Regions from separate parts of the Homo sapiens genome. Here region 2 is linked to region 1. Evidence: promoter capture Hi-C in 16 types of primary human blood cells and fetal thymus (Javierre and others, 2016). All regions are on one chromosome and are shown on one strand. The core of a region is centred on a gene start or on the middle of the fragment in contact, and the rest is flanking DNA. Distances in the headings are between cores, read along the strand shown.

What was found. Contacts are between HindIII fragments. The CHiCAGO score rates a contact against its expected background, and 5 or more counts as called.
Region 2: a fragment that was not itself captured here is called in contact with the fragment with the promoter of SLC60A2-DT in region 1 in 1 of 17 cell types (neutrophils); the score reaches 5.5 in neutrophils.

The regions. Positions count from the first base shown.
Region 1 is chr6:111,257,249-111,262,140 of GRCh38, forward strand. SLC60A2-DT (SLC60A2 divergent transcript) reads right to left here and starts at 1,964. Exons shown (of 3, transcript XR_001743807.2): 1 at 1,876-1,964. It overlaps SLC60A2 (solute carrier family 60 member 2), which reads left to right and starts at 2,091. Exons shown (of 4, transcript NM_153369.4): 1 at 2,091-2,479. The coding sequence starts at 2,453. It overlaps LOC124901378 (a long non-coding RNA gene), which reads left to right. Exons shown (of 2, transcript XR_007059708.1): 2 at 1-462. RefSeq lists enhancers at 1,741-1,800, 2,121-2,200. The HindIII fragment of the contact is 14,878 bases long and covers 1-2,660 here.
Region 2 is chr6:111,524,088-111,528,979 of GRCh38, forward strand. LOC107986522 (a long non-coding RNA gene) reads right to left here. Exons shown (of 2, transcript XR_001743809.2): 1 at 4,616-4,892; 2 at 1,838-2,149. It also overlaps TRAF3IP2-AS1. Among named protein-coding and RNA genes, the nearest start is that of REV3L, 43 kb to the left of the region's middle. RefSeq lists an enhancer at 198-367. The HindIII fragment of the contact is 5,796 bases long and covers 1-4,892 here.

The sequences.
Region 1 (4,892 bases), core at 714-3,213:
AGGCAGGTGAGAAAAGACTACCTACCAAAGTAGGTTTTGTTTGTTTGTTTGTTTGTTTGTTTGTTTTAACATGGATTCTCCAAAGATAGGTAGAAAAGTCCTGGTTTGGCGTCATTAGTCTACTTCAGCCCCTCTCTCACTGATTACGACTGAAAGACTCATGACAAAATACAAATGGCAACTACCTGCCGCCTCTGAAAAGTAAATAAAGAATTGAGGTAGGGAGTCAAAACTTAGAAACCTGCAAGGGGATGAATTTCCTGGCTTTTTTCTTCTTTTCTTGTGGTTTGTCCTGAGGAGAGACCCCAGCTGGGAACTGTTGGGTGGCATGGGTAGCTAAAACTCGAATAGAAATCTCATCTTTCTGTGCTGAAAGGAAATAACGGTTAGCCCAGAACTCTATTTTCAGTGAAAATATTTTCAGGAATCAAAGTGAAATAAAGACATTCTCATATGAAGGAATGCCAGCTGACCTGCTCTAAAATAAATGCTTGGCGGGCCGGGCGCGGTGGCCCACGCCTGTAATCCCAGCACTTTGGGAGGCCGAGGCGGTCGGATCATGAGGTCAGGAGTTCGAGACCAGCCTGACCAACATGGTGAAACCCCGTCTCTACTAAATAAAAAAATTAGCCGTGCGTGGTGGCACGCGCCTGTAATCCCGGCTACTCAGGAGGCTGACGCAGGAGAATCGCTTGAACCTAGGAGGCAGAGGTTGCAGTGAGCCGAGATCGCACCATTGCACTCCAGCCTGGGCGACAGAGCGAGATTCCGTCTCAAATAAATAAATAAATAAATAAATAAATAAATAAATAAATAAATAAAAAAGAAATGCTTGGCGGGGCATGGTGGCTCATACCTGTAATCTCAGCACTTTGGAAGGCCAAAGGCAGGCGAATCACTTGAGGTCAGGAGTTCGAGACCAGCCTGGCCGACATGGTGAAAACTCGTCTCTACCAAAAAGCGCCACAACACTCCAGCCCGGGCGACATAGGCTCTGTCTCAAAAAAGAAAACAAACAAACAAAAAAAAAAGTGGGGGTGCGGGTGGGGGGAAGACTTAATGACTAAACGAATAAGTCTGGAGAGACGGGTTGCAAGGGATGATGAGACTAAGGTTTGTAGTCTGGGAGCCTAAGTGGATGAAAGTTGGAAGAATCAGGTGGAAAAGAACATTTCAAATAGACCACAAAGAAAAGTATATAACATTTTGAGGCTGTGGTACGCTTTGTTAAAGAGCAAAAGGAAAACAATTCCTCAAATCAGGGGGGAGGGATAGCATTAGGAGATATACCTAATGTTAAATGACGAGTTAATGGGTGCAGCACACCAACATGGCACATGTATACATATGTAACTAACCTGCACGTTGTGCACATGTACCCTAAAACTTAAAGTATATAAAAAAAATTCCTCAAATCGATGCCACGCTCCACTTCTTTACAACGATGGAATTATTTCAGGAATTGGAATTATTTCAGGAATTGTGTTTGAAACCACAGCTTTGGATCCCGATTTCTTTCTTGAGCTACTGTTACACTGTTTATATACGGCCACTAATTCGATGACTGAGCTTGGGCAGATTGTTAATTATTTTCTATGACTTAATCTTTCTATCTGTACAACGGGGATAACGTGGAATTTGGAGTGTTGTGAGGGTTGAGATAATATACGTGATAACTTACACAATGACGTTCAACAAATACTTGTGGAGTGAAAGATGCGCGATTCATTGACAGATCTCAGGGATTTCAGAAAGCTGTATAAGGACCAGCTCTTCAGGCTCCCTTCGCTCCCCAGGAGACCGGGGAGCCGGCGCGAGGCGCTACAGTGTAATTCTTGGCCCCTTTTCCTCATAATGGTTTGGCCGCATTTTTACCTCTTGATTTCCCTGGTCCCAGGCTGCAACTTCAGCTCGCTCCGCCATGGGGCGCACGTCCGCCAGCCTCTGTGAGCTCAGCTAAGTATGATGCCTAGGCTAGAGAGCTACGTCCGGTCTCCTAGGCAACCATATCAACTTCCGGCTTGAGGCACGATAGCGGTTGGCGAGAGGCCACATTTCCGCCACGTGACCCGCGCATGCGCCTGCTTGCTGGAGAGCGAGCGTCTTTTGCCACGAACACCTGCGGCGTGCCGAAGTTCCTCTTCTCTGCCCCGGTTCCGGGCGGTCCGCTGGGAGGTGGCGCCCGGAGGGACACCCGTGCCTGGGGTCGGGGCCAGTGCTCTTCTCGGAGCTCCAGAAGTTCTGCTGAGAAGCGCGGCGGCAGCAAGACGACTTCTCCGGAGCCGCCGAGCTGGAGTTAGAGGTGGAGCTCCGTGGGGCCGGGCCCCCGGCTGCGGGGCAGCGGCTCCTGCAGGCGGAGGCCCCGGCGGAGAATGAGCCGGAGCCGGAGGTGGTGGTGGTCTCCTGGCAGAGCGGTGGGACCGGGAGCAAGCTGCGGTGGTTCACCACCTTGATGCTGTGTGCCTCCTTCCTGGGGCTGGTGAGAGCCGGGGCTGCAACACTCCCAGGCCGGGGCGTTCGAGTCTTGCCTTCGCCACTTGCAAACTGACCTTGGGCGCGTTACCTAATCTGACTGGGCCTCAGTTTCATCATCTAGAAAATGGGCACAATTCTAATCTTGGAGGAAATAGATTTTCTGAATACGTCTTTCAGCTCCAGCAAGCTTTTTTTTTTTTTTTTTTTGACGGAGTCTCGCTCTGTTGCCCAGGCTGGAGTGCAGTGGTGCGATCTCGGCTCACTGCAACCTCTGCCCCCAGGGTTCAAGCGATTCTCCTGCGTCAGCCTCCCGAGTAGCTGGGATTACAGGCGCCTGCCACTAAGCCCGGCTAATTTTTGTATTTTTAGTAGAGACGGGGCTTCGCCATGTTGGCCAGGCTGGTTTCAAACTCCTGACCTCAGGTGATCCGCCCACCTCGGCCTCCCAAAGTATTGGGATTACCGGCGTGAGCCACGGCGCCCGGCCCGGCAAGCCTTCCTACGTCTCCTTCGTCGGATGGGAAGGTTGCAAGAGGGGTTCACCAGGTCTTTGGCCGCTGCTCTCCGCACCCACCCACTCAACCCCCAAATTATTACACAGAAAAACTACTTTTCTGGAATTTCTTCCTGGTGATCTGACCAAATTCAGCCAACCGCTTAATTTTGCAGATAAGGAAATAGGCCCGGAGGGGAAAGTGACTTTCTGGATCACACAGCTGGTTAAGTGATAGAGCCAGAAATATGTCTTTTACTCTGCCCACCATCCTATTTATTAATAAAACCAACCTTTAGATTCTTAAATGTTTTTCTTGGAGCAAAGGGCAAGCCTAGAGGCGCCTTTTGCCAAACCCCTGGGTCGCCACTCAATTCACTTTTCGGAAACCTCCTCCTTATCACTTGATAATTATGATCCTGGGGGAGTTGAGAGGATGAGTCCTCCCAAGAGTCATGTGTGGTCACTTACCATCTCAGGGACTCTGAGCCACAGTTGTTTCTTAGAGTATTTTGATTGGGGGCGGTGGGGAGGGGTGAAGAAAGAAATCACTTCAGACTTTTGGTGAGTCGTCACTGACTTGTCCGGTCCTGTTGTAAATCCTTTGAAGACATGAACTAATTTGATTAGATTCTGTGCTCAGGCTTCTCTCGAAGTACGAGGTGCTTGCTGTGCACCTGGGCCCATAGTGGTCCGTGGTCTTGGACTGTTACGAGTTGGGCAGGGGGCGCACCCCATGCATTTAGAGCAGAGCAGGGCAATTAGAATCAGTTATTCTGGAAATGTAGACTGATTGGAAACATTTTTTTCTTTAAATGTCCAATGAATTTCCTCTGAAAGTCAATTGTAATCCTTACCTCTTGCTGACACTGCATTGAGTAAAGTTTTATTGTTAAAGTCATTCTGTACTTGGGCGTGTAATATTTTTTAAGCAACCTTTACTGACTAATTCTGATGGCGTGGAAGAAAAGTGTAGATTTAGAAACATTTAAATTGTTTATCTCCTGTATGTTTTATATGTATAGTTCAGGGGAAGGACTCCATGTGCATCCAGAAATATTGCTGTTTAACAACATAAAAAACAGGAATCATATTTTGATGTTTTGATCAAGGTTTTGACGTTTTCCAGTGGCTCAGTCAGAACTCACTACAGTCTCGACCTCAGGGCTTAAGCGATCCTTCCATCTCAGCCTCCCTAGTAACTGGGACTACAGGCATGCGCCACCACGCCTGGCTGATTTTTTTCATTTTTATTTTTGTAGAGATGGGGTTGCCTAGGTTGATCTCAAAACCCTGAGCTCAAGCAGTCCTACCATCTCTCCCTTCCAGATTGCTGGGATTACAGGTGTAAGCAACCACACCTGACTTAATTTAATTAATTAATTTATTCTTTCTGAGACAGAGTCTCGCTCTGTCGCCCAGGCTGGAGTGCAATGGTGCAGTCTCGGCTCACTGCAACCTCCGCATCCCGTGTTCAAGCGATTCTCCTGCCTCAGCCTCCCGAGTAGCTGGGACTACAGGCGCCCACCACCATGCCCAGCTAATTTTTGTATTTTTAGTAGAGATGGGGTTTCACTGTGTTGGCCACGCTGGTCTCAAACTCCTGACCTCGTGATCCGCCTGCTTCGGCCTCCCAAAGTGCTGAGATTACAGGCGTGAGCTACTGTGCCCGGCCAATTTAAATTTTTAATACCCAAATTCTTATTTGTGCATGTAATATATTTCAAAATGTACGAAACCATTTCAAAAATAGTTTTAATATTACATTTTATTAATACAGAATAGTCTTTTAAAGGTATTGTTCAGAAAGGAAACAGGATTGCAACAAAAAAATAATTTTTTAAAAACTGAGAGGTGTCAAAACAAAAAAAAAATAAGAGTTTTAGTCAAAACTAAAAAAACAGTAGTCTAATTCCCTACATTA
Region 2 (4,892 bases), core at 1,252-3,751, 270 kb after region 1:
TTTTAAACCCAACAATGGCCTTTTAGTTTTCTTTTTTTCTGTTTTATCTCTCATTACCATGTGTTTAGAGCATATAAGATAAGCTGAAACATGAATTTACTGTGCCACCTTGTTTGGAAATTCTACTGATTCTTTTTCAATTTGATATTGTCTTGGCTTAGGAAATAATGTAATTTAACTGCCTGCTTTATTGAGAAACGCTCCCAACTCTCCCTCTCATTTTGAGGGATCTCAAATCACAGAAATTCAGGTGAAATATTGTCATTTTCCATATAGTGGTTTAATTGTTTCTTTGAGGGCATCGTAACTCAGTGCTGGAGTTAGAATAGAACAGGGATAGTATCCCAGCTTTGCTCCCTCCTACATCTGGTTGATGAGAATGGTATCAGACAGTGCTTTGTGTCCCCACCTCCTCCCCATCTCTGCTTCGAGCTGCTCTCTCTCCTTTTCCTATTCCTCCATGGGCCCTTTTTTTATGCAACCTTCAATCTGTTATTGGAGAATACGTGGATTTTCAGACCCTTTGTCATAACTTGGTAGCCTTTCCAGAGTGTTACTGCCTCTGAACTTGGGCAAGAGGAGGAAGAAAAGCCTTCCTACTTGTTTATTTGCCTCGAACTATGCTCTATGTTCTTTTAGATGCAAATATTTTAAAAAACAATTTTCAATCTTTTGCTCTTTCATGCTGTTGCCAATAACAATCTAGGGAACTGTCAGTGAACTGCATTGTGATTTACACTAGGCATTTAAAATATTTCCAATGGATTAAAGAGTTTTTGAACATAGGGGGTTTCACATTTCAAGCCCAAATACCTAAATATAATTGCACACTATGCTCCTGTCAGTATACTTGCTGGAGCAAAGTAGTTCACAGCAACCAGCTTAGCTCTACTTAGAAAAGACTTGCTTAGGAATAATTGAAGTGGTAGAAATGTGTATGTGGTCATCCTCATTGAGACATTTAGAAACTGGTATTGCATATGGTGTCATCCTCTTTAAGCCACTCTGTTTTTAACAAAAATGAAATAAATATGTGAGTTTACAGCTCACATGAAGGAATTAAACATTTTCTGGGAGGTAATTTAATAAAAATCAGATGATTCAAGAAATGGTTACCTTCATGTTTTGTTTATTTGTTTGTTTTGTTAAAGAAACTAGTTGGAAAAATGCTTTGTTCGGATATCTTAAAATAACTCCATAGGTAGCTGTTCTGTGATTGCCGACTTGGGGTGTGGAAAAGTTACAAAATGAAATAGAGAGCTATTATTTAGCAATTAAGAACACACTTTGCTTCTTTAACTGGGATTAAGTACTTCTGGAGCAAGTTTTGTGCTAACATTAGACATTGAGGTTGGTCCAATAGCTGCACAAGTTATTCTTTAGAAACTGTAGTCTGTTAGTTCAAATCAGGACACCGCAGTGTGAATATAAATCACTTATGCCACATTCTTACGAGGTCATTAAACCATAATTGTCACAATTTCTTTAGAATTACCAAAGCAAGAATTTCCTCTGTGTAACGTTTGAGCTTTATTTTTTTTTCTTTTTGTTTTTCTTTCATGTATTGGAAGACTCTTTTAAAATGATATTTAGCCAGGCGCGGTGGCTCACGCCTGTAATCCCAGCACTGTGGGAGGCCGAGGCGGGTGGGATCACGAGGTCAGGAGATCGAGACCACAGTGAAACCCGGTCTCTACTAAAAATACAAAAAATTAGCCGAGCGCGGTGGCAGGCGCCTGTAGTCCCAGCTACTCAGGAGGCTGGGGCAAGAGAATGGCGTGAATCCGGGAGGCGGAGCTTCCAGTGAGCCGAGATCGTGCCACTGCACTCCAGCCTGGGCGACAGAGTGAGACTCTGTCTTAAAAAATAATAATAAAAAAAGATATTTAATTTTCTAATGCCCTGGCTTCTATCATCCCTCGCCTATAAAATAGATGTATGTACTAGGAAGCAGGTATTGCGTGAGTGTACTGTGAACAGCATACTAGAACCCATTGGTTTTAGGAAATTAATGAGAAAGGTAATGTGGTATAGTGGAAAGAGAATGCGTCTTGGAGTCAGGCAAACCCACCTGTGAATCCAGCTCCACCATACTCTCTGTATAACCTTAGCAAAATTGCTTTGTTTCTATGGGCCTCAGTTTCTTTATCTGGTTTAAAAAAGAAAGAAGAAAATGTTAGGTGCTAAGAAAATGTTACTCCACTGTCCCTACCCTTCTCAGAAGACATTTAGATAGATAGCTAGACAGACAGATGGAATGTTATTAACTGAATGCTTATTATGTGCCTGACATTGGGCTCCACATCTCATTTAGTCCTAACACACATACGAAGCACTGGAGCTTATACAGCCTTTGTATATGTCTTCAGGCTTGACTTGCCTGAAGTTACATAACTAGGAAGTAGTAGAGCCAAACTACTGTACAGCACAGTGCTCTTAGCTACTGTGATTTTAGCTTCACAAAATTTAAAATCTCTTAGAGATATCCTACCAGTTTAATGCTGTTAGAAAATGTAATGACAGCCAGGCACGGTGGTTCACACCTGTAATTCCAGCACTTTGGGAGGCCAAGGCGGATGGATCACAGGGTCAGGAGATCGAGACCATCCTGACTAACACGGTGAAACCCCGTCTCTACTAAAAATGCAAAAAAAAATTAGCCGGGCATGGTGGTGGGCGCCTGTAGTCCCAGCTACTTGGGAGGCTGAGGCAGGAGAATGGCGTGAACCCGGGAGGCGGAGTTGCAGTGAGCCGAGACTGCACCACTGCACTCCAGCCTGGGCGACAGAGCAAGACTACATCTCAAAAAAAAAAAAAAAAAAAAGAGAGAGAAAATGTAATGACAAACCACTAGTTTCTCATCATATTTATTTTTTTCTGTCCATATTTAATTTTGATGCATGTATTTGCTAGAGCTGCCGTAACAAAGTACCACAAACTGGGTGGCTTAAGCTGCAGAAAATTATTTTCTTATAATTCTGGAGGCAAGAAGTCCAAGCTAAAGGTGTTGACAGGTTTGCTTTTTTCCGTGGTCTCTCTTCTTGACTTGCAGATGACTGCTGCTATGGTCTGAGTATTTATGTCCCCACAAATGCATATGTTGAAATCCTAACCTTAAGGTAATGACATAAGGAAATGGGGACTTTGGGAGTGATTATGTCATGAAGTCAAAGCCCTCACGAGTGAGATTTGTTCCCTTATAAGATGGGCCCAAAGCGACCACTCACGCTTTCCACCATGTGAAGACAGGGCAAGAAGGCACCGCCTGTGAGGAAATGGGTCCTTAGCAGACACTGAATCTGCCAGCACCATGGTCTTGGACTTTCTGGCCTCCAAACTTTGAGAAATAATTGTGTGTTTTTTGTAAGATATCCAGTTTATGGTATTTTGTTATAGCAGCCTGAGCAGGCTAAGACAGCTGTCTTCTTGCTGTGCCTTCATATGGTTGTCCTTCTGTGCATGTTATCTGTGTCTTCATCTCCTCTTCTATGTAGACACCAGTCCTATTGGATTACAGCTCACCATAACAATTCCATTTTATCTTAATTACCTCTTTAAAGGCCCTGTCTCTAAATATAGTCATGTTCTGAAGTACTGCAGGTTAGGGCTTCAACTTGGGAATTTGGGGAGGACATATTCAGCCCATAACAATGCATATATAGCATAAAGCATATGAAAATAAGAGCACCTACCCTCCATTGTGTGTTTACCATGTGTGAGACACTGTTCGAAACACTCTATACATGTGTATTTAACCCATATGAGGATAGGTACTATCCTTATCCTCATTTGTTACTGGGAGGCTAGGTAGTCTGTCCAGGGTCACATTACTAGTAAGTGAAATAGGATTTGAAGCTCTACAGTCTAACTCCAGAATCTGAACTTTTATGCAGTATATATACTGCCCATCACAAAAACAAGAAATATCCAGTTTGGAGCAAAGAAACAGAAGACACAGTAATATCTATTTGAGGTAAAATTATGATTAACTTGAAAATTCTGTATATGTTTAATTAGCAGTTACTAGGTTGTCATATGTGAGAAATAAAGAAGCAGCTTCATTCTTCTTTGCCATTGAAAATCATGGCAAAAACCGCTATTACTTTTGCACCAATGTAATACTATAGCACAAGTAATAAGTCAGAGTCATTTAAAAAATAGGAAAGAAAATTCCAAGTAAATTTCTGGCATGCTACTCTATATAATAAAGGGTTAATTAATACAAAATATTCTTCTAAAATTTCAAAAGCAAATAGTACCCACAATAAAGTTTTAATATTTGAAGACCTAGTACACACATGCCTTACTTCTTGGCTTTTTGTCAAAGTTGATATCACTCCAGCTTCAGCCCGTTTTACTGATGCAGAAAAAAGAGCTGAGTTTCACATCTGGGAGATATGGGGCTCAGGGACAGCAATATGCCCCTTCCAGTCTCCGAACTAAGCATACAAAAGCAAAGAACTTGGACCTAACGGTGACTAGAAAAGAAATTGTAAACCATCCATATTCCCTCCCTGAACCCCCAAACAGTGAGGAAGGAATATAGGGCTCCCTCTACACAAAGAAACAGGATTTGAGCCAATTTAATTGAGTGTCAAAGGACAGCATTCCTTACCTTCTATCTGGTTTAAAACCAAAGTAAAGAAACAGATTTCGGGGTAGGAAACACTGCTATGGTGCTCCCTTTTTGCCAATCACTTTGTGTCAACAAAGCCTCTGCCTTCAAGATGCGTGAAACCTGGTGACTGGGGGGGATTTACAAAGATGAGATAATGAGAATTAACAGAGCTCATAGTCAAGTTCTAAGTTAAAAATAATCAAATATGAAAATGTTGAGTGGAGACATTGTTATGGCTGGTCAGGATTTTGGAGGCCACTATGACTGGAGTTAT